Regions from separate parts of the Homo sapiens genome. Here all the other regions are linked to region 2. The links are contacts of gene promoters, found by promoter capture Hi-C in blood cells and fetal thymus (Javierre and others, 2016). All regions are on one chromosome and are shown on one strand. The core of a region is centred on a gene start or on the middle of the fragment in contact, and the rest is flanking DNA. Distances in the headings are between cores, read along the strand shown.

Evidence for each region. Contacts are between HindIII fragments. The CHiCAGO score rates a contact against its expected background, and 5 or more counts as called.
Region 1: a contact is called between a fragment that was not itself captured here and the fragment with the promoter of THBS1 in region 2, in 1 of 17 cell types (endothelial precursors). The highest score is 6.4, in endothelial precursors.
Region 3: a fragment that was not itself captured here is called in contact with the fragment with the promoter of THBS1 in region 2 in 1 of 17 cell types (endothelial precursors); the score reaches 7.2 in endothelial precursors.
Region 4: a contact is called between a fragment that was not itself captured here and the fragment with the promoter of THBS1 in region 2, in 1 of 17 cell types (M1 macrophages). The highest score is 5.2, in M1 macrophages.

What each region holds. Positions count from the first base shown.
Region 1 is chr15:38,988,112-38,993,611 of GRCh38, forward strand. The region is part of intron 2 of LOC105370777 (a long non-coding RNA gene); the gene reads right to left. Among named protein-coding and RNA genes, the nearest start is that of LINC02915, 260 kb to the right of the region's middle. The HindIII fragment of the contact is 1,479 bases long and covers 1,023-2,501 here.
Region 2 is chr15:39,578,914-39,583,769 of GRCh38, forward strand. It overlaps THBS1 (thrombospondin 1), which reads left to right and starts at 2,166. Exons shown (of 22, transcript NM_003246.4): 1 at 2,166-2,315; 2 at 2,916-3,011; 3 at 3,280-3,839; 4 at 4,704-4,779. The coding sequence starts at 2,945. LOC124903470 reads left to right here and starts at 894. Exons shown (of 1, transcript XM_047433405.1): 1 at 894-2,081. The coding sequence starts at 1,405. The coding sequence ends at 1,839. RefSeq lists an enhancer at 1,257-1,994 and silencers at 1,417-1,646, 1,657-1,706. The HindIII fragment of the contact is 3,699 bases long and covers 895-4,593 here.
Region 3 is chr15:38,894,277-38,899,531 of GRCh38, forward strand. It overlaps a transcript of LOC105370777 not described here. Among named protein-coding and RNA genes, the nearest start is that of LINC02694, 200 kb to the left of the region's middle. RefSeq lists an enhancer at 1-591. The HindIII fragment of the contact is 648 bases long and covers 2,377-3,024 here.
Region 4 is chr15:39,058,185-39,063,383 of GRCh38, forward strand. All of the region lies in intron 2 of LOC105370777 (a long non-coding RNA gene), which reads right to left. Among named protein-coding and RNA genes, the nearest start is that of LINC02915, 190 kb to the right of the region's middle. RefSeq lists an enhancer at 3,730-4,282. The HindIII fragment of the contact is 1,602 bases long and covers 1,314-2,915 here.

The sequences.
Region 1 (5,500 bases), core at 512-3,011, 590 kb before region 2:
GGTAAGTAAGGTCAACGTAACTTCAGAAATAACACTAACCCTTCAAGGCTGAATCAAAATTTATGGTAGGCAACCACAAACGAAAAGCCTGATTTGCTTTCACTGAGTTTAGCTGGTTAGACCCTGGTATTCTCAGGAATAACTAAAATGTTTCATTGCCTCATAGGCAAACTTGTAACTCCTCTGGTTGGATCAGAAAATGAATCCATATATGGATTCAATTAGATATTACTGCTGATAATTGTTAGCAAGACTTTCTTCATTTTCCTCCTAATAAGAACATGCTTACTATTGCATAAATTAGAATCTGGCTCTATTGTTGGGGAGGAGCAGCAAAAACTGAATAGATCAGCTTAGTTTGGAGTCTGAGTCAGGATTTTCACTCATACTCATACACTTACTAGAAATAAAATCAAGTCTCAGTCCATTAACTGCCTGTAAAATCTTACATTAGAAAGTAGGGTGGTGTGTATTGTATATGCACGGATAAATGTTGCTTTATTTATGTAAGCCTTAGCCCGGAAAAGTAGCCCTTGAGGAGAAGTAAAGATGAATTTCAAGGCGCTACCAAAATAATGGTTCATAGCATCATTATCATTTTCTCAAATCCTTGGAAATCTTTTCTGTAGAAACTCTCATGGCTGCTACATAAGATCAGAATTTAGGTAACTGGTTTCTCTGAACTTAAGAAAAACCATTCTAGGTCAGCCGAATAGTCCAAATGGTCAATACTTTATTTGGCATTTCTCAGACGGTGAAATCTACGGATAGATTGGTTGCTGTCTTAAAACATTGTGTTGTCCAAATCCCTCAGCAGTCTGGTAAGGTGTACCGTCTGTGAATTCAGCTCAACTTTTATGTTACCCTGTGCTGTGGTCAGAATGTTTCCCCTGAAGTTCATATAGTAAAATCTTATCACTCAAGGTGATGGTATTAAAAGGTAGGGTCTTTGGAGAGTTATCAGATCATGATGGCAGAGCCCTCATCAATAGGATTACTGCCCTATAAAAGAGGCCTAAGGAAGCTTGTTTGACCCTTCCGTCATGTGAGGACACAGCTCAAAGGCACCATCTATGAACCAGAGATCAAGCCCTCTCTAGACAACAAATCTGCCAGTGCCTTTATCTTAGACTTTCTAGCCTCCAAAATTGGGAGAACAAAAATCCTGTTGTTTATGAGCTACCTAATTTATAGTATCTTGAAGTTGTGGACCAGTGTCTTTTCAATGTTTTTGACCATGATCCAGAGTAAAAAACATCACAATCCCATACTTCCACACAAATAAAAAAAAGTTTCATAATTCTACCTACATGTGAGTCACTGGATATTTCCTATGCTATGCTATGCTATGCTATGCTATGCTATGCTATGCTATGCTATGCTATGCTATGCTATGCTATGCTATGCTATGCTATTCCCTACCATATTTCACTTTTAAATGCTTATCTCTACTCACAAAATGGCTTTCAAATTCACTAATGGGTTGGGATCTGCAGTTTGAAAAACACTGTAGTATGTATTCTTAAGTACCTGTCTATGTATAGGAGACATATCTGAGTTTGAGGTATAGGCATAGATTAAAAATCAGTATATAGGTAGTAAGTGGACAAAATGGGCTGGGGAGAGACTATAAAGTGAGAAGAGTAGAAGGCCAACAGTGTAGTTCTGGGGAAATGGCATGGAGGAAGCTCATGCCAGAGGAGAGTGTGCTATAGAAGCAATTGAATAGATTGTTTTGACAAAGAAGGAATAATGTTCAATGCTGCTAGGCAGTCAAAATAATCAATGCAGTTTCCATTAGATTAAGGATGTCTAAGTCACTGATCACCTTTGTGTAAGAAATGTCAGGGTGTTAAGGGGAAATATTAGATTTCTGTAGGTTGAAGAAAGAGTAGGAAGTGAGGAAATAGAAATAGAGACGGACAACTCCTTTAAGAAACTTGTCTCTGAAATAAAGGACTTATGTCAGTAGTATCTGGAGAAGAAAATAAGTGGTGGGATGGAAATACTATACTGTACCTTCTCTTATTTGTCATAATACTCTCTATTTCAAGGTCAGCACTAGCTAGGGCTAGCTCTAGGATTACAGAATTAAATGAGTAAATCCACATTGGCTTGATGCATTCTCTCTTGTGTGGTTATGTGGCCTTTCATTCTCGGTGTTTTTATGAACACACATACACACATATATATATACACACATATCTATATGTTAATATAGAAACTATATATATGTAGATGACCTATCTATCTAGCCCCTCTACTCTGAAGAGAACATATTTAGAAGAGTATATCAGCAAAGTTTCTAGGTTGATCCATATGCAGATACCCTAAAGTGCCCCTGGGATACCCCTAGCTATCACAGAATACTGGAGCTTTTGCTGAAGAATGCCCTAGTATAAGACATATAATACCACCAAGGGCTGCAAGTCTTCCTTCTGATATGATTCAAACCGTAGGCTATAGATGTAATTTCTTTCAGTGGCAGAAAAGTTATTCAAAGCTTTATTTGAACATGCCTTGGGTTTCAGCTTTAGGAGGTACAGAGTGAGAAAGTGAATATATTTCAGTTTCAAAATCTAGTTATCAACTATGTCAAGACACATAATTGCTCTATATTTAAATTACTGCCAATGATTAGCAATAACCTACAATCTCCTTGACATTTCTGTTAAGTATATTCTATGGTTTCTAAATAAAACCTACCAACCTTAGGACACATAGGTCAAGGAAATTTTATAATAAGGTCTCAATGATAAGATTATTTGCTCTAGAATCCAGCAGCCAGCTGAGCAGAGTACATATGTCAAACTATTTCCTCCCATTGGCCTTTGGTTAAGGATGGAGTGTTTTGTTTATAAGATACTTTGGGCTTTAAGGAGAACTATAGAACTATATCTGTTCTAAACTAGAAGTTGTTATAAATCATGATCTTCATTTTACATTGCTTAATTAATAGTGTGAGAGATTTAAGAGACATAGGTAGTTGTTGCTATTGAAAGTAAACTCTGACCATTTCCTAATTTCTTCTTTTCTGATTCTTCTCAAAATATTCACACTTTTTAAATATGGAAAGGTATTTTATACACAGAAAAGGCACTGTGTCAGACAAAGGGTCTGGTGCCTCAGCTTCGCAGCTCTTCCTAGAAATCCAAGATTGTTTTTTTTCCTAGGACTAGGAAGCCAAAAGTGTCACACGGTCAAAAATGCTTCCATCTACTGGTGAAACTCAGGAATACACTAACATTTCCCTGCCTGAAATGGTTAGTTGAGGACACAAAGCAACCCAAAGCGAGCGGAGCTTGGCCATGGAGCTCAGAAATTCAAAATAGTCAGTTCTTGCTGATGGTGAAGGTAAGTTCCAATCAACAAGCAGGCTATTCAGAGAGATGAAAGGAGGAGCAGGGGGTAAGATTAGAACTCTGGTTCCCCAAGGCTCTGTTCATGTATTCTCTCAAGGCCTTAAACCAGAAATGGAATGGCTCCAGAGGTCAACTGACCTTTTGCCTAATGTCCCCTAGTTGGGTCAGTTGCTCCCTCACAGTCAGTCACTTTAATTCATTCCTGTGGGTGAAAATACATGACTGTTTCCCTTTCTAACAGTCACAGAGGGTTGACTTGCCATGGTGAGCAGTCGCCAGATAGGACAATGGAATTCATCTCATTCCTGTGATGACTTTAGATATGAAATGCCAGGCTGCTTGGCCTAGGGGAAGGTGCTGTAAGTTATAGGCACTAAAGCCAACTCTCCCAGCCCCCTCTGCTCCTTTTGACAGTCTCCCTCTTGGGCTGTGATCTGGCTGAATTAATTCATAGCTGCCAGTTATGAGGACTTTATCTGCATTGTTAGCATTCCTTCTAACCTGCAGCCTCTGTTCATTTAATGATTATCTGATGGGGATTGATATTAAGTGAAGAGGAATGTTCAAATCACGCTGCCTTTGGCAAGTGGGAACTAAAATAACAGAATTTCAGTTTAGGAGGGAAATATTTGCTCACTAATATGAAATTTTTCTTAGTAGGATTGTGGAATGGAAGGGAAAATTCCAGAAAAATATTCTGGCAAAGCGGACTTGAATGGATGGTTCTCCAGTACTTTATTTATTTGGCCAAAAGATGAGGAAAAAAAGCAAAAAAGGAGGCAAAGAATAGGTAATATAGGAATAAACTTCTCCTAGCCATTTTTGGCCATTTTAGGCAAATATTCTCTACTTAGTCTCACTATTAAACTCAATTATACAATGTATTTGCATTAAACTAATTTTAGCAAGCGATAGTAAGAGTTTTTAGAAGACTCAGCTTTCAAAGAGGAGTTTTCTTAATGGACATATTTTTAAACAGATTTCTTGAATTCATAGCTTTCTCTCCAGAATCTCTGACAGGTGAGAGAGCCTCTGAAAGAATTGTATGGAAAGGAACAAAGCTCACACAAAGAATTTATCAATTTAGCGAATGCAGTTATGACTGCAGCTGACTTTCTTCAAAATGACATACTGCATGAGCACATAGACTCAAAAGCATCCTTTTCTACTGAAGGCCTACAGCAGGCTCACAGGCAGTAAGCAAGACAAAAAAGAAACTCAGGGGGACCAATGAGATTCCAAAGGGCAAAACTCCCAAGCGTCCTTCAGAGAGAGAGGTCAATTTCACAATAACTCAAAATATATTTATATCACGCTAAGCTGACAGCTGAGGCATTTACACTTTGTCTTTTCACAGGGCATGTAAGTAACTGTGGAAAGGCTTAAGTTTCCCTGCCTTAAATACGTTTCCAACATACTTGTGAAACACTCACCATGATAAGTCATGCCCATTTTAAAGTAAATCTAATCTATGTATATAAAAAATTATGGTGGTTCTTTCAGTGTCTTATGAAAAATGGGAAAGGGACCGGGCTGAGTTAGTGCTTTTTTTCTCGTCTTTGAAGGCAGATAGAACTTGAGAAGTCAATTACTACTGAGAGTGAAAGCCTAGAGACTGATGAAAGAACTCAGCACCCAATAGCCTTCCTTGAAGCTTCACTGAGCACTAGTGTGTTGGTGGGCTGGCCTGAGCCATGAGTGTCATTTGAGAAAGAGCAAAACTCTAATAATCAAACAGTAAGAGAGGAAAGGACATGAACCTTGGCCATGGCTGCCAGTTTTACCACTGAGGATACCCATCCCTTTCCCTGTGTTTCTGCCTGCCTGGGACCTCTCTGCATGTTACTTGAATTGCTCTCCCTATCATGTTCTTCTTTGGTTCATGCCTTTTATCTTGTCAGAGTTGCGAAGACTTTCTGATGAAGACATGCTCACCAACCGAGAAAAGTCCTTCCCAGGTCCGTGGAACAGAAAGAACTGAGCAGGAGGGCAGGGCTGGCTGGCGAGCCAAATGTTGTCATAGATGTGGGGCTGGAGAGGCTGAGCACTCCATCAGCAGCTGGAACCTTTGCTTTCTAACTACAGACTTTTAGAGAGCAGAAACCTCTCTCAAAGGTGGTGTCAGACAAGTGAGAGGT
Region 2 (4,856 bases), core at 916-3,415:
ATACCTGTCAGCTTTCTCTAATAAGAAAGCTCTTTCCTGCCACCGTATAGGTCACCTTCTTATTGGTAAAGCATGATGAAGTTTGGAAACTGTTGTCCTTGTTTTGTTGAAAGAAGCCAAGTTCCAAGAAATCTGCAGAGGCATTCCTACAATCCCTCAGCCATGGCAGCATGAATCCTGAAGGGGCAGTGAGTGCTGGTTTCTACTCTGTCTGCACAGCTAAGCCTAGGGGAGATAATCTTTTCATACAAGATGCATTCTGCTTTTGTGGGCCTCTTGCAGCCCTCAAGCCCCCATCTGATTTGTACACAATGATCCAGTGGGCCAGAGGAGCCCAGAGCCATGAGCGGCCCATCCCTCCAAGAACTATTTCTGACTGTCCAGTATCATGGAGCAAGTGGAAAGAAGAAAAAAAAAACCCAATTACTTTTCGAAGAGCAAGATGAATGCTGTAGAAGGAGAAGGAAGGGGAGGGAGATGGATGGGTGCCGATTCCAGAATCTTCAGATCTGCTTGGATGAATCATTACCTATGATTTGCGGGACAAGAATCTGATTTTATTCATCAACCAGTAGAAACTTTTCTTTCTGCCTCCCAACATCTGAAATCCAACAAACATGTGCCTTAGGAACATACCGGTCATCTTTTAGAGGCATTTTATATACATATTGAGTAACTAGAAAACACTCTTTCCGTAATACACACACACACACACACACACACACACCATCTTGTCATACAACACTCCCACGCAAGAAAAGCGAAACTGCTGTTTGATGAATGTAAACACTTGGCTGTTTGCAGCAGTCGGGAGTCCTGCCAGGTTTAAGTGCTAAGATGGGAGGTGAACCCCAGGGGTTTCCCCCTGCCCGTGCTGAGATCCTTATTTGGTCAAGCTTCTACCTATGCCCTGGCCTCGGAGCGAGCCCGATAGCGCTGGATCACAGCAGAGGGAGCGAGGCGGCTGACGTCCCATCCCGAAGAGATGAATGGAATTCCAGGAAGCTAGAGTCATGCTGGCTTGGGACAGTGGCTTGGAGACCAGACTTCAATGACAGAAGCACTAGGCAGCGGCACTCATGGCAATGTGTGCACCCACAGAAATGTAACCCACACCTCGGGTTCAGGAGCCGAAAAATGAAAAGAACGTTTAGGGAGGAAAAAGGGAAATACAATAATAGGCAGAGAGTAATTTATTACTCTATGGGTCTGCTCTGTAAATAGCTGAAGACTCTGGAGCCAGATGGTTCTGCAAATTCTCCAAACAGGAGTCACGTTAAGAAGCACGAGTGGGCACAAAAACTGTTTTTCAAGACACAATTTCAATTTGGCTTGTGGAAACTGGATACGAGTAAGTTTCCTTAAAATTCGAGTAGAAAGCAGCTGTCCTCCCCGGGCCCCTTGATGAGAATACGCACACCGCCCCCAAGCGGCCGGCCGAGGGAGCGCCGCGGCAGCGGGAGAGGCGTCTCTGTGGGCCCCCTGGCAGCCGCGGCAGGAAAGGGCCCGAAGGCAGCGAAGGCGAACGCGGCGCACCAACCTGCCGGCCCCGCCGACGCCGCGCTCACCTCCCTCCGGGGCGGGCGTGGGGCCAGCTCAGGACAGGCGCTCGGGGGACGCGTGTCCTCACCCCACGGGGACGGTGGAGGAGAGTCAGCGAGGGCCCGAGGGGCAGGTACTTTAACGAATGGCTCTCTTGGTGTCCCCTGCGCCCCGTCGGCCCATTTTTCTTTTTACAAAACGGGCCCAGTCTCTAGTATCCACCTCTCGCCATCAACCAGGCATTCCGGGAGATCAGCTCGCCCGAAAGCCCCTGCGCCACCCCGCGGGCCCTCCTAGGTGGTCTCCCCAGCCCCGTCCCTTTTCGGGATGCTTGCTGATCACCCCGAGCCCGCGTGGCGCAAGAGTACGAGCGCCGAGCCCGTGCGCGCCAAGGCTGCGTGGGCGGGCACCGACTTTTCTGAGAAGTTCTAGTGCTCCCAAGCCCCGACCCCCGCCCCCTTCACTTTCTAGCTGGAAAGTTGCGCGCCAGGCAGCGGGGGGCGGAGAGAGGAGCCCAGACTGGCCCCCACCTCCCGCTTCCTGCCCGGCCGCCGCCCATTGGCCGGAGGAATCCCCAGGAATGCGAGCGCCCCTTTAAAAGCGCGCGGCTCCTCCGCCTTGCCAGCCGCTGCGCCCGAGCTGGCCTGCGAGTTCAGGGCTCCTGTCGCTCTCCAGGAGCAACCTCTACTCCGGACGCACAGGCATTCCCCGCGCCCCTCCAGCCCTCGCCGCCCTCGCCACCGCTCCCGGCCGCCGCGCTCCGGTACACACAGGTAAGTCGCCCCCGGCGGCCGCCGAGGACCAAAGCTGCCCGGGACATCCACCTGGAGCGCTGAGGCTTCAGTCCCTCTGGTGGACCCCGGAACCTACACTCTCCCCGCTCGCCTACCCCAGCCCGCTCCTCTCAGCCGCTGGAGGACTCTTCAGGGCAAGGCTCCAGAGCCATCCTCTCCAGCCTTGAGGTTCACAAACCAACTCATCAGGACACCCCAAGATTTCCTTACTCTCTGAAGTCCTCCTTAAGCCTTTGTATCAGCACTCCAGGGAAGAGTCTGTACTTCCCCTGCCCTCCCTGCAACCCCAAACTACAGTTCCTGATCTTGCTCACCTTCGACTTCCCAAAAGCCCCCAAATTGTTGGTCTTGCGCCCCCCACACTTTAAAACCAGCATCTCTTTCCTCCACCTCTCTCTCTCTCTCTCTCTCTCTCTCTCATGCTCTCTGGAAAGTAATCCTGTTGTCCTTCATTTCAGCAAACGCGGGGTCAAAGAGGGATGGTCCCGGCCCTGTCCCCATGCCCAGCCCCGTTTCTGCGCACCGTCCCTCCCTGCCTAGCTGATCTCTGACCCTCGGCTCTTGTGCTTCCTGCTACAGGATCCCTGCTGGGCACCAACAGCTCCACCATGGGGCTGGCCTGGGGACTAGGCGTCCTGTTCCTGATGCATGTGTGTGGCACCAACCGCATTCCAGGTGAGTTTGTGTGGCACCTTTAGGGGAAGGAGGGACAAGGAAGAGGTGCTGGCTATCCCAGGTGTGCCCCCTCACGTGCTGTCCTCTCCCTCTTGAGCCTGACTGGACATCAGGACGCAGCTTCACTCTGATCCTGGTATTTATTCACCTCTTTCAGTGGTTGCCAGGAGTTTTCACCCCAACCCTTTGTCTCCACCCCTAAGGACTCAGCCCCCTACTGCTGGTCCCAGCCTAGAAAGCTCACTTTGTGTTCTCTCCTGTCTAACAGAGTCTGGCGGAGACAACAGCGTGTTTGACATCTTTGAACTCACCGGGGCCGCCCGCAAGGGGTCTGGGCGCCGACTGGTGAAGGGCCCCGACCCTTCCAGCCCAGCTTTCCGCATCGAGGATGCCAACCTGATCCCCCCTGTGCCTGATGACAAGTTCCAAGACCTGGTGGATGCTGTGCGGGCAGAAAAGGGTTTCCTCCTTCTGGCATCCCTGAGGCAGATGAAGAAGACCCGGGGCACGCTGCTGGCCCTGGAGCGGAAAGACCACTCTGGCCAGGTCTTCAGCGTGGTGTCCAATGGCAAGGCGGGCACCCTGGACCTCAGCCTGACCGTCCAAGGAAAGCAGCACGTGGTGTCTGTGGAAGAAGCTCTCCTGGCAACCGGCCAGTGGAAGAGCATCACCCTGTTTGTGCAGGAAGACAGGGCCCAGCTGTACATCGACTGTGAAAAGATGGAGAATGCTGAGTTGGACGTCCCCATCCAAAGCGTCTTCACCAGAGACCTGGCCAGCATCGCCAGACTCCGCATCGCAAAGGGGGGCGTCAATGACAATTTCCAGGTGAGGCTTCTTCTCTGAGCCCTGCTCCGTGGGATCATCTGCTAGACAGGTGACCTGCCAGGAGGGCTACAGGAAATCCTGTCTGTAAACTAACGCAGCAGTTCTCAGATTTTAGGCAGCATGAGCATCACCTGGAGGGCTTGTGAAAGCTCACCCTGCTGCACCCCAGCCCCAGAGTCTGGGATTCTGTAAAACTGCAACTCTAACAAGTACCAGGTGATGCTGATGCCGGTGGTCTGGGAAGCACACTTTGAAAACTACTCAAGGAAACAAGAAATGGTTTTCCTTTAGCAGTCAGCCTGTTCAAGCCTTAGATACTCCTTAGGCTCTTAAGAAAAGAGCTTATTTCAAATGCATTCCCCCAATTTTAATCTTGTTTGAAATGGATACTTTCTATGGGCAGAATCAGTACCACTTTGCTATTGGATTCCTCATGGGGATGCAGCTGGTCTCACATAAAAGGTTAAAATAGCAGTTAGTTGTTGCTGTTACAGCTTCATCTGTGCCTTAACTTCTAGATCTTTGCAACGGTGGCTTTGAACTCCCACATTTAACTCTTTGACACTGGAAAGTGTCATTATATCCTCTAGGCTTAGGATCAGATTCCATTTCCTGTGTACCCAAGTAGGCTGATAACTGAATTCTTTGTAAAATACTCAAGACTTGGCAGAAGTCACAATTAAGATTTTGAAGTTGTTTGGCGATTAATGTTGCTGTGTTATTTTGACATAGTGATCTTAAGACAGCTCTTTGAAGCTTTTAGAACATCTATTGTATGCTTTTCCTAGCATACAGACAGTCTCCCCCAACCCCATCCCCACCCCGCTCTGCATTCTACAAGTAATGTGTGTCCTCTGCCCACAGGGGGTGCTGCAGAATGTGAGGTTTGTCTTTGGAACCACACCAGAAGACATCCTCAGGAACAAAGGCTGCTCCAGCTGTGAGTACCCCTCTATTTTTAGGGCACATAGGGAATCAGGGGGAATTCCACCAAAAACAAACTGAGGAATTTAGCAA
Region 3 (5,255 bases), core at 1,451-3,950, 680 kb before region 2:
GCATCTAACTTCTTTTTCTTTTGCTTCAGTTGTGGAAAACATGTACAGTTGCCTCAGTAAAAGGAATGTGTGGAGTTTGTGGTTTATGCTGTATTCATGCCATGGTAAGAAGAGAGACCCTGTTTATTGCTAGAGGAGACATATAAGGAAAATAAAAGGGGGAAATATCATTTAATAGATAAACAGCCATGCCCAACTTGACATTTTTCTAACCCCTTCAAGGACACACATTCCTGAAGGTCTGTGAGTCAGTACTTAGAATACATTTGGAAGATTAACCATTAACTTGCCTTAGGGAATTTTCTGCTATGCTGACCCATGGAAACTTAGGCCTTTCCAATTCTCATTCATTCATAATTAATTTATTCCACACTTACTGAATTCTTTGTATCAGACACTGTTCTAGGTTCAGATGATAATCAGAGGAAAGCCACAATTCTCAAAGAGTTCATGGTCCAGTCCTGATGATTAAGCAAAGAAACAGGCAAAACAGTTTTCTGATTACAGATGAGAAAGATCCAACTTAGTCACAGTGTGGGAGTTGGGAGAATTCAGGCAGAACATCAGGAAATTCTGGGAGGAAGCAGCCCCTGAATTGGGTCTTCAGGGATGAGTAAGAGTTAGGCAGAAGACGTTAACATTGTTACATGTGCACAGTGCCAAGATAGGCAGTGGGAAAGATATATACACATTCTGAGATCAGGGAGAAGCATGCTTATTAAATAATCATTTAGAAAAAGTGGGACTCAAAATGAGGACCTGCTTCCCATTGGGATCAGTTCTGTAAAGCTCAGGTCTTAAGTATATAATAATCCCATTATCTCACTCTGTTTATTTCTATTGTAATAGTCTTAATACTTGCCTTGTACCAATGGTTTATACATTGTTTTCATGTGTATTAAACTATTTAATCTTCATAACAACCTGGTGAGATTGGTATTATAATTACTTTATAGATGAAGAAATGAATCAAAGAGACATCAAGTGACTGTCCAAGGTCACATAGCCTAAATGTAGCTTTATTGAGCTTCTAAATAGTTATTGATTGACTTGATATATATTCATTCAACACTGTAAGTATGTATCTGTGTATTTACTCAATGCACATTTATGGGGCACATACTGTATGCCAGGCAGGCACTGTTCTAGATTCTGGAGATACCACAGTGAACAAAGATAATTTCAGATTATGATCAATGCTGTAAAAATAGACACAGTCTTAGCGTGACTGGAGGCAGGAATCACATTTTAGATAATTGCTTTTATTTTCTTGGCTCTCCAATGTTTATCTAGGGTTTCTTTCTGGGTTTTTATCTAATGTATGGTATTCAGTGGAAATCTGCCAAGTGCTCCCATGAGTAAATCACCATCTGAGATTCTTCTGCTATTTTCATCAATGTATAAGAAACAATAAGAGCTCCCATTTATTGAGAGACCTGCATGTGCCAGCCTCTTCGATGGATATTTTTTTATTAGTCTCATTTATGGGGTGCTGGTAGAGTCTATCAAAGCCCCAGGATTGTTTCTCAGCTGATCTTTTATTACTTGCAGGGTGCATTAATCACCTTCTTCCTCCCAGAGGCAGGGGACAAATCCCAGGATAACTCTCTGTTCCAGCTTCTTAGATGTCCTGCTAATAGCCATCCCTGCTGACAGCAACCAGCAAAGGCGGCTGCCCTACAAAAACATCCTTTCAAAGTATTTTTCTCTAGAGCTTTTTTTTTTTTCCCCCAAACCTTAAATGTTGGCGAGAATGCCTCACTATTTATTATTAAAAACATGTCTGGGGATGATGATAGTGTGTTCGTATGTTCAACAACCAAAGCTAACCACAAGTAGGTAGTCATACAGGATACTCTCCAAGCATGTCATAAGGCCTCACTGATCCCAAAATATTATCAGCACCATCAGCCTGCAATCACACTGCCTTCCTCTCTGCCATGACTGATTCTTTAATATTAGAGTAAAAGTCCAAAGACAGAGCTTTGGACAGGGCCCTAGAGGAGTATGATGGCCCCAAGAGGGAAGGAGGCCTCCCTGCTCCATCACAGCAATCTGGACGTCTTCATCAGTTAGTGGATTATTACTTGGAAATCTAAAAGAACTGGGCTTAGATGGATTAAAGATGGGCAAATAAACCATTCCAGGATGGATTCAACAGTTGCAGTCCTGGAGGAGGTGCCAGTGTAACAGCACTGGGCCAGGAGGGGAACCTGAGTGGTAACAATTCCCTCCTGCTCATCCTCTTTGTTCCTTTTTATGTAGGGTTAGCCTTTGAGACTCCGACAGCATCATGGCTTTGAAGAACATGACACTGCCCCCTGCACATAGAGCCTCTTCCATTTACTCCCTCTTGGGCTTTGGGCAAGCCACTTAAGCTTTTTGAGCCTGTTTCTCCATCTTTAAAATGGAATTAAAATATTTACTTTTTATTTGAGATTGAAAGCCTCTCAATCTTTTTTGAGACTGAAATAATAGATGATGTCTTAGCCTCTTTAAAGAGATGTGTGTAAGTCTGCTTCACCACAGGCAATTGCTGCACGGAAGCTCAGCAATGTGTGGTATTATGGAAATGCTTCAGAAGCAATCCTTCTGGTTCTCAAGGATTCACAAATAAGACTCAACAGAGTACCTCTGCTTTGTTTGCAACAACAGCCTGACTTGAAGTGATCCACTGACTTGAAGTATTTATACTTCTCCAAACAAGGGATGTGATTTGGTTTTTGCCTATTTGATATGAAACATGCTGGTATGCCAGCATTTGAGCCAGTTTTGAGTTGGGGGCCTTTCTAATACATTTATAGCATATATAGGCCTAGATAGGATTACTTTGGTTTATGCCATGATTCCTGTTTCAATCAGCAATAGCAGGAATTATTCCACCCAAAGTCTAAGTTTGAGCCACTTTTTCTTGGGACTGTTACCATGATAGGTATTGAGAGGCTAAAAGATGTGTTAGTGGATACAGTAGGGGCATCATAGAGCATAGCTACATATATATGTAGACAAGCTCTACAAAACTGAAGCTTAATTAATGGCCTAAAGACTAAACTGTGGGGTATTAAGGAATATCAGCCACTCTAGAGCAATGTGGTAGGCAGCCAGAATCTCAAAAGGCCCCAGTGTGGCCACATCAGTTCGGGATACTCACATATGCCTAGAGAAGAGAGCACTGCTTTGAAGCATCCAGTCACAGTTCCATGCGGACAACACCGTGGGCAAGGTCTTTTTGACTCTGAAGGATCGTTGTCATTTATATACAATGCATGCATATGATTACACATACTAATGAGAAGAGAGGGACAGCAGCTGAGTGTCCCAAGTGTTTATCATGGTTAAATTGTTTATTTGATGTCACTTAAAATAACTGGCTTCTAGACATAAATAGCTCGGATGAAGATATAAGACCTGATAGCTGTTTTGGCTCTTTCCCCAAGTGATAAAGTTCATAGTGAAATGGCTCCAGTTGACTTTTTAGAGAAATACATAGCTGCATTTGTGAAAAACAGGAAGTTAACTGCAGAGCCTCTCAATTTATTTCTCTTACATCTTTAGAAAAAAGAACCTCACAAGTTGTAAAACTGTGGGAAAAAAATATCCTTTTTTGAGTGATGTGGGATGGGATAAGATCTGGATCCTATGTCCCAGTAGTAAGGAAGCCAAGTTTTAGGACAACTTTAATTTTGTTGTGAGTGTTGTGTTTGGGTTCTTTTTCTCATGGCTATGGCTGTGTCTTTTGAAGAGAAAACCCATGAGGACTGGCCAGTGATCCAAAGAATCACATGTGTTGCCAGCTTCTTTTGTAGCAGCCTCCCAGCCTTTGCTATTTTCCAAGTGGCTAATCCCACTGATTTTAATGACATCTCCCTTCCCCCAAATCAGTTTAACTTGAAAGAGCTCTTCAATAATGCTTGACAAATCAGAGATTTGGTGAAAAATCTGCGATTGTCAGAAATTGACTTTATCATGGAAAATTCTTATTGACAGTCTTCTGGGGGTACATGATCCAAGAGGCAGTGCAGTTTTCTATCACCTCTGATATGAAGCAGCAAGAAGAGATTTGCTATTTCTGGCTCCTAGGTTCCTAAGCTATTCCAAGGATTTTCTGCTTATCCTTCTCTTGAAATGATATGAATACTGTCCTTGGCTCATGAATCCATCCCATTGCTATGTGGTACAGCTTTCTTGGTGACTTAGAAAAATAAGTCATAAGAACACTTCTAGAATAAATCATCTCGGTTTTGTCTTTCACTGAAGACAGTCAACACTGGTCTATTCTAACAGGCTAGTAGTATGGTGGTAAAAAAAACTTGGTACCTGTATTAGTCCATTCTCATGCTGCTATGAAGAAATACCTGAGGCTGGGTAATTTATAAAGAAAAGAGGTGTAATTGACTCAGTTCTGCATGGCTGGGGAGGCCTCAGGAAACTTAAAATCATGGCAGAAGGCACCTCTTTGCGGCGCAGCAGGAGAGAGAATGAGTGCCAAGAGAATGAAGACCCTTATAAAACCATCAGATCTTGTGAGAACTCACTGTCTCCAGAACATCATGGGGGAAACTGGCCCTAGGATTCAATTATCTCCACATGGTCCCACCCTTGACATGTGGGGATTATTACAATTCAAGGTGAGATTTGGGTGGGGACACACAGCCAAACTGTCAGTATCTGAAATTAGATAGCCTTGCATTTGAATTCAAGATCCCCAAATATTAACTTTGTGAATGTGGGCAAGTTTCTTCAACATCCTAAGCCTCATTTTTTGACATTTGAAAAATAGTACCTCCTTCATAGGGTTGTTGTAGCATTTACAAGCATTTAATTAATGGGAATTAATTATCACATAAGAATATATTTAAAAGAGAGCACTCCAAGCAATCATGCTTTGAAAATTAAGAAGATGAGTTATTATATTTAAGGTGTAATCCTGGGTCCTCTGAATCAAAAGATTGAAACATGATCTTGGATTGGGAGTAAAAATAAGTGATTGAATTTTTTTCTTTTGGACAAAAATGAATATTTTGCAGTTGAAAAAATATTTCATTAACTAGATTGAAACTTCTCACAGTCAATGTGAGCCAGCTCAGCTGAATATCTGTTATTTGGGGCTGGACAGTGAGGGATGCCATACAAAGCTCTTCTGTGTCCAGGCTGAGTAACAGCCATATGATACTCCCAGACATACCTTTTCAAGCCACGTGACACATTGCCATGCCAAGCACAGAGAGTCTGTATATTTCTCTTTCCTGTTATTA
Region 4 (5,199 bases), core at 865-3,364, 520 kb before region 2:
CAGGTGCACCAACATCTCAGAAATCACCACTAAAGAACTTATCCATGGAACTAAAAACCACCTGTTCCCCAAAAACTGTTGAAATAAAAATAAACTGTCTAGCATTAATTTTTCTGTGTAGGAAAAAATAAAGTCTTTTAATGAAGTATTGTCACAGTAATATTGCTTAAGACAATCCACAACATCAGTGAGTTGTAACGAAAAAGAATTATTTATATTTTAAACACCTTTGGTTTGACTAGAGCTTGGCTGATGTTGGCTGTGCTCAGCTGAGTTTGGATACAGACTTTGTGTGAAGTTGGCTTCACACATTTGCCATAATTCTGGCAGCAGTAGGCTACCCAGGACAAAGGCATAAATGAAAGCGAGCAAGTCCAAACTCATTAGAACACTTCAAGTCTTGATTATGTGACATCTGCTGACATTCTAATGGCCAAAACAGGACACATGGACGAGCTCAGAATCAGTGGAATAGGGAAATATGTGCTGCCTCTAGTAGGAAGAACTGCAGTGTCCTATTAGCAATGGGTGTGGTTGCAGGGAGGGGTGAAATATTGGGACCAATAATGAAATTTACCACAGGCTATGCTCTTAGTTACAATAACATTTTATACAAAGTTCACTCAATCCCTTTCTATTATACCCGCAAAAGACTCATTCAAAGCATTAGGCTCTAAAGCAAGAACCTAATTATCGATGTTGGGTCTGGATGCAACTCCAGAACTAAAAAGACAAGTTATCTGCCTCCCACACACCCAGCAATGATGAAACATGGGAAGAATAACTGCAATGAACTCTCCCATTCACAAAAAGAAAATAACACATAGCAGCCACTGGCTTATAGCGATTTTGAATACTACTGAACAAATATGGCCAAGTACTTTTTTTTTTTTTTTTTTTTTTTTTTGAGGCTAGGGAATATATCTTCACTAGGTTCTAGTTTGAAACTGGAATGGCTCTCCAGCCCATATTTTCCCTGTGGTGCTTGGTTGTGCCCTCTCTTTTTTTTCCATCTTTTTAAATCACTTCTGAAGAAGGCATTGAGTATATTTCATTCTTAGCAACTTAGCAGTTTTATCAGTCTACTTCCTGCCTGCAGAAAGTTGAGGTCTAGGAGTACTTTTTTTTTTTTCATCTTAGTTACTATTAGTCTCCTTTTACTCAGGCTGAAGGATGACACTTTTGTCAGGATAAATATCTCATACTATTTTGTTTTATTCTCTTCAATCCCATGGGCTAAAAGCTACATCCACAATACTATTTAGACTTGCACCTTCTCTTGAGACCTAATTACAGAGAGTTTGGGCATATCAAGCTTCTGTGGGACATACCCTTAATCTTTCTAGGAACACTTTGGCAGAGCAGAACTTTTTTCAGAAGTCATCACAAGGGATTTTAGTAGCCAAAATCTTAGTATGTCCTTTACCTTGAGGCCATGTCTTACTGATAGTGTCCTGGGTTTGGTCTTTTCCTTGAGTCTATGTCATAATGGTCACACCATTGACTTGAAAATTGTTTCCCATTCCAACATTTCAAGTGCTTTTTTGAGTCACTCAATCCTTCATAAATTCAGTTTGCACCTCAGCCAATTAATTTTCAGCTCTCTTCTAATATCTCGTTAAAGGCAGCTGGCAGCAGTCAGCTTACCACTGCAATATTCTGCCTTAAAACCTTGAAGTTCATTATGTTAATAGCAAACAATACTTTCATTAAATATTTTCCACTCTGTAACACAGGTTGCCATTTATCAGCATCATATAGCAGTTTTCTAACTACCAGTTCCCAATGCTTATGCCCTACCTCTTTTACCAATTTTTGGCTTAGTCAACCATTCCCACAATAATCATAACAAACTCTTCAGCTCCTGAAATAGCTTTGGAGCTATAACGGTGACAGGAGCATCTTTTGTTACTCATAACAAGTTCCTTTCAACCACATCTGAGTTTATATTAGTGAAGTAACTTTTAGAAAGCTCCTAAGGATGAGGGGCTGGTTGCCAGTGTAACATCACCCATGCGATCAGAGGGCTGCAACTTTCAGCCCCACCCCCGGACCTCCAGGGAAGAGAGAAACTGGAGGCCGAGTTAATCACCATTGGCCAATGATTTAACAAATCATTCCTATGTCATGAAGCCTACAGTAAAAACCCTAATGGAAGGGGTTCCAGGTTGCTGGAAGTGTGGCACCCCAGAGAGGGCATGTAACCCCCTTGCCAATACTTTGCCCTAGGCATCTCTTCCATCTGGCTGTTCTTGAGTTTTATCTTTTATAATAAAACATTAGAAAGGAAGCCTTAGAAAGGTAAATGCAAGTAAAGTAACTTCCCTAACTTTTGTGAGACAATCTAGCAAATTACCAAACCCAAGGAGGGGGTTGTAGGAAGCCCTGATTTATAGCCAGTTGGTCAAAAATACAGGTTACAACCTAGGACTTACAACTGGCATCTGAAGCGGTGGGCAGCTGTGTGGGACTGAGCTTTCTAACTTGTGATGGAGCTGATGCTAACTCCAGGTGGACAGCGTTAGAATGAATTGAATTAGATTGTAGGACACCCAGTTGGTATGACAGAGAATTGAGGAATTGCTTAATGGGAGAGAAAAACCCAGACACTTGGGTGTCAGATGTGAAATATTGAGAATAGAAAAACAGAGTGTTTCCCTTTCCTCTATTTGCTAGGCATCCAGTAGGCTACCTTTCTTAATAGCTTCCTTTCTAATGTCATTGACTTAGGGCTCTTAAGTGAGTTCTAGCCAATGGAATGTGACTGACAGTAATGCATGAGACTTCCAGGTCCACACACAAAAATATTCTAATGCCCAATTATCCATTCTTTCTTTCCTACTCACTTGGTGAACCAAAGCAAAATGAAATTGGGAGTAATGTATTGAAGATGAAGGAGACTCAAGATAAAAAAAAGCTTAGGTTCCTGAATCACCATTGAAAGAAGTGCTGCCACTGATGAAACACTCACTGTGGGCTGTTCATGAGACCATGTTTTTTTAATTTATGTATTTATTTTGCTCTTTCTATGTTGTTTTGTAAACAGAATGTAGCTGGAAATTCAATCTGATCTTTTATTTTCTTATAATATTGAGATTTACCCACTTTTATTTATTGGATTTTTAATATATTTGCAATTATTTATCCCATCATATTACACTTTTAGATGCCTTTTTTATTTGCCTCTTTTGTCTCCATTTTGCATGTTGTTCACTTATTTACATTGTGTATATTTCCAATCGCTAAAATAATAGATAAAAATTCCATTGCCTCCAAACCAACAGGTGAAAAGTAGCAGCATTTTCTCAGTGCAATTTGAAATTGTTTTCAATGCAATGAAATTGTTTTCCATTATTTTAGTAGTTACTTTTAAATATTTAAACAGATTTGCTTCAATATAAATTTGTGCAACAAGGCCTACAATTAATCAGCCTTTGTCTTTTTCTACTAATCACAATAGAGAGCTTTACATACTAAAACTACATATTTAAAACTAAATGTCCCTCCCTGCAGCAACACATTTTAGCTTTTCTCTTCATATTACAAAAATTTACTTTTTAGCAACAGTGTGTTAATTAGAATTACTTGTTTTATCAATTTCTGCCTATTGTTTTTTATCATGTGGTTTCCCTGGTTTCACATTCCTTCTGGCTTAACTTTATCTTTTAATAGTACTTTTAGTGAGGGCTATGGATGGTAAGTTATTGTGTTTGTATGTAGGAGATTGGTCAGGGTGGTGGGAAAAATTATAGGGAAAGACAAAAACCTTCTTGGAAGGCTGGGAGGTTTTGCAAAAGCTTGGAAAGAGAATTTAGCTGAAGGCAGTTAAATTCTCTTAAGGGCAAAGGGTAGATAACAAGGGAATGTAAAGAAACTTATCTAAATAAATTGATTTAGTTATGTCTCCGGAAACCAACCTTTGATCATTCGCATGCAGGACTGCTGTCTACTCAGGGGGTCGACAATGTTAATTGCCCACAAATTGTGTTTGCTCCAAGCCTTTGTCATTAAATCTGTACTAAATAAATAAATAACGGCTCAGGCTTATTGTGGCTGCACTCTCATCAGTGGTGCTAAGTGGTGCAGTCCCCTAGCCACACTGTCAGGTAAAATACCTGTGTCTGCGTACTCCTTTCATCCATCACTCGACCAGAGTCTGCAGGATGGACCCAGCATTTGTATACATAGTATGTTTTTATTTTATGCCATTATTTAGCCTTTGCTCTTTAATGATAGTTCATTTGTATATACAATTCTACATTGCCAGTTATTTTTCTTCTGCACTTTGGAGCTATTATCTTACTGTATTTTGGCATCTATCATTGCCAGTAAAAAACCTGTCTCATGTGTGAAGGTTATCCCTTTATTAGTAATCTGTCTTTTCCTGTCTGGCAACTTTTAAAGAATTCTCCCTGCCACTGCTTTCCTATAGTTTCACAAGAATGTACCTTGATGTGGATTTATTTTTATTGATATTGGTACTTAACGTGTACTTTTGCTATGAAGGTTAACATTTTTTAATTCTCTTTAATTATAGAAAAATTGAAGCTACTATCTCTTTGGGTGTTACTTCCCTCCGTTTATTTTATTATTTTCTTCTGGAATTCCTATTAGATGTATGCTGTAGCCTCTTCATCCACCCTTGTTTCCTCTTTATTCCTTCTTCCTATTCTTCATCTTTTTGTTTCCTCATCTTCACTGTTAGTGATGTCTTCAATATAACTTACTCTTATGTATGCAACGTAGAGTTTAACCAACTTATCAAGTACTTTTAAGTCAATAACTATATACTATTTCATACTATTTCATCCCGATTTCTAATTAGATCTTCCTATATTCATCTCTTCTTCTTAAATTTCTCTGTTTGATTCATAAACTTTTGATCATCTTAAAATATTTCTTTCACCTAATTCTCAGAGTACTCTGTGTGTTAAAGTCTTTGTCAAACTGCTACACAAAATTAATTTCACCCGAAATGAAATATTCTTATGGTTACATTTGTTTGTTTTTCTTAACATTAGATGTTTTAATGTATTTTGGAATTTTGCTGTTTGTGTAATTTGGGGAGGACATTTTGTATGTGTCTTTTTACTTTCTGCCTTCTAGTTAAACTCTAGACTAGATAAAGACAATAAGTTAGTATTGAGGATATTACTATCCCTGGTTAGAGATTGTGCAGTTATTTCCACTCATTATGTG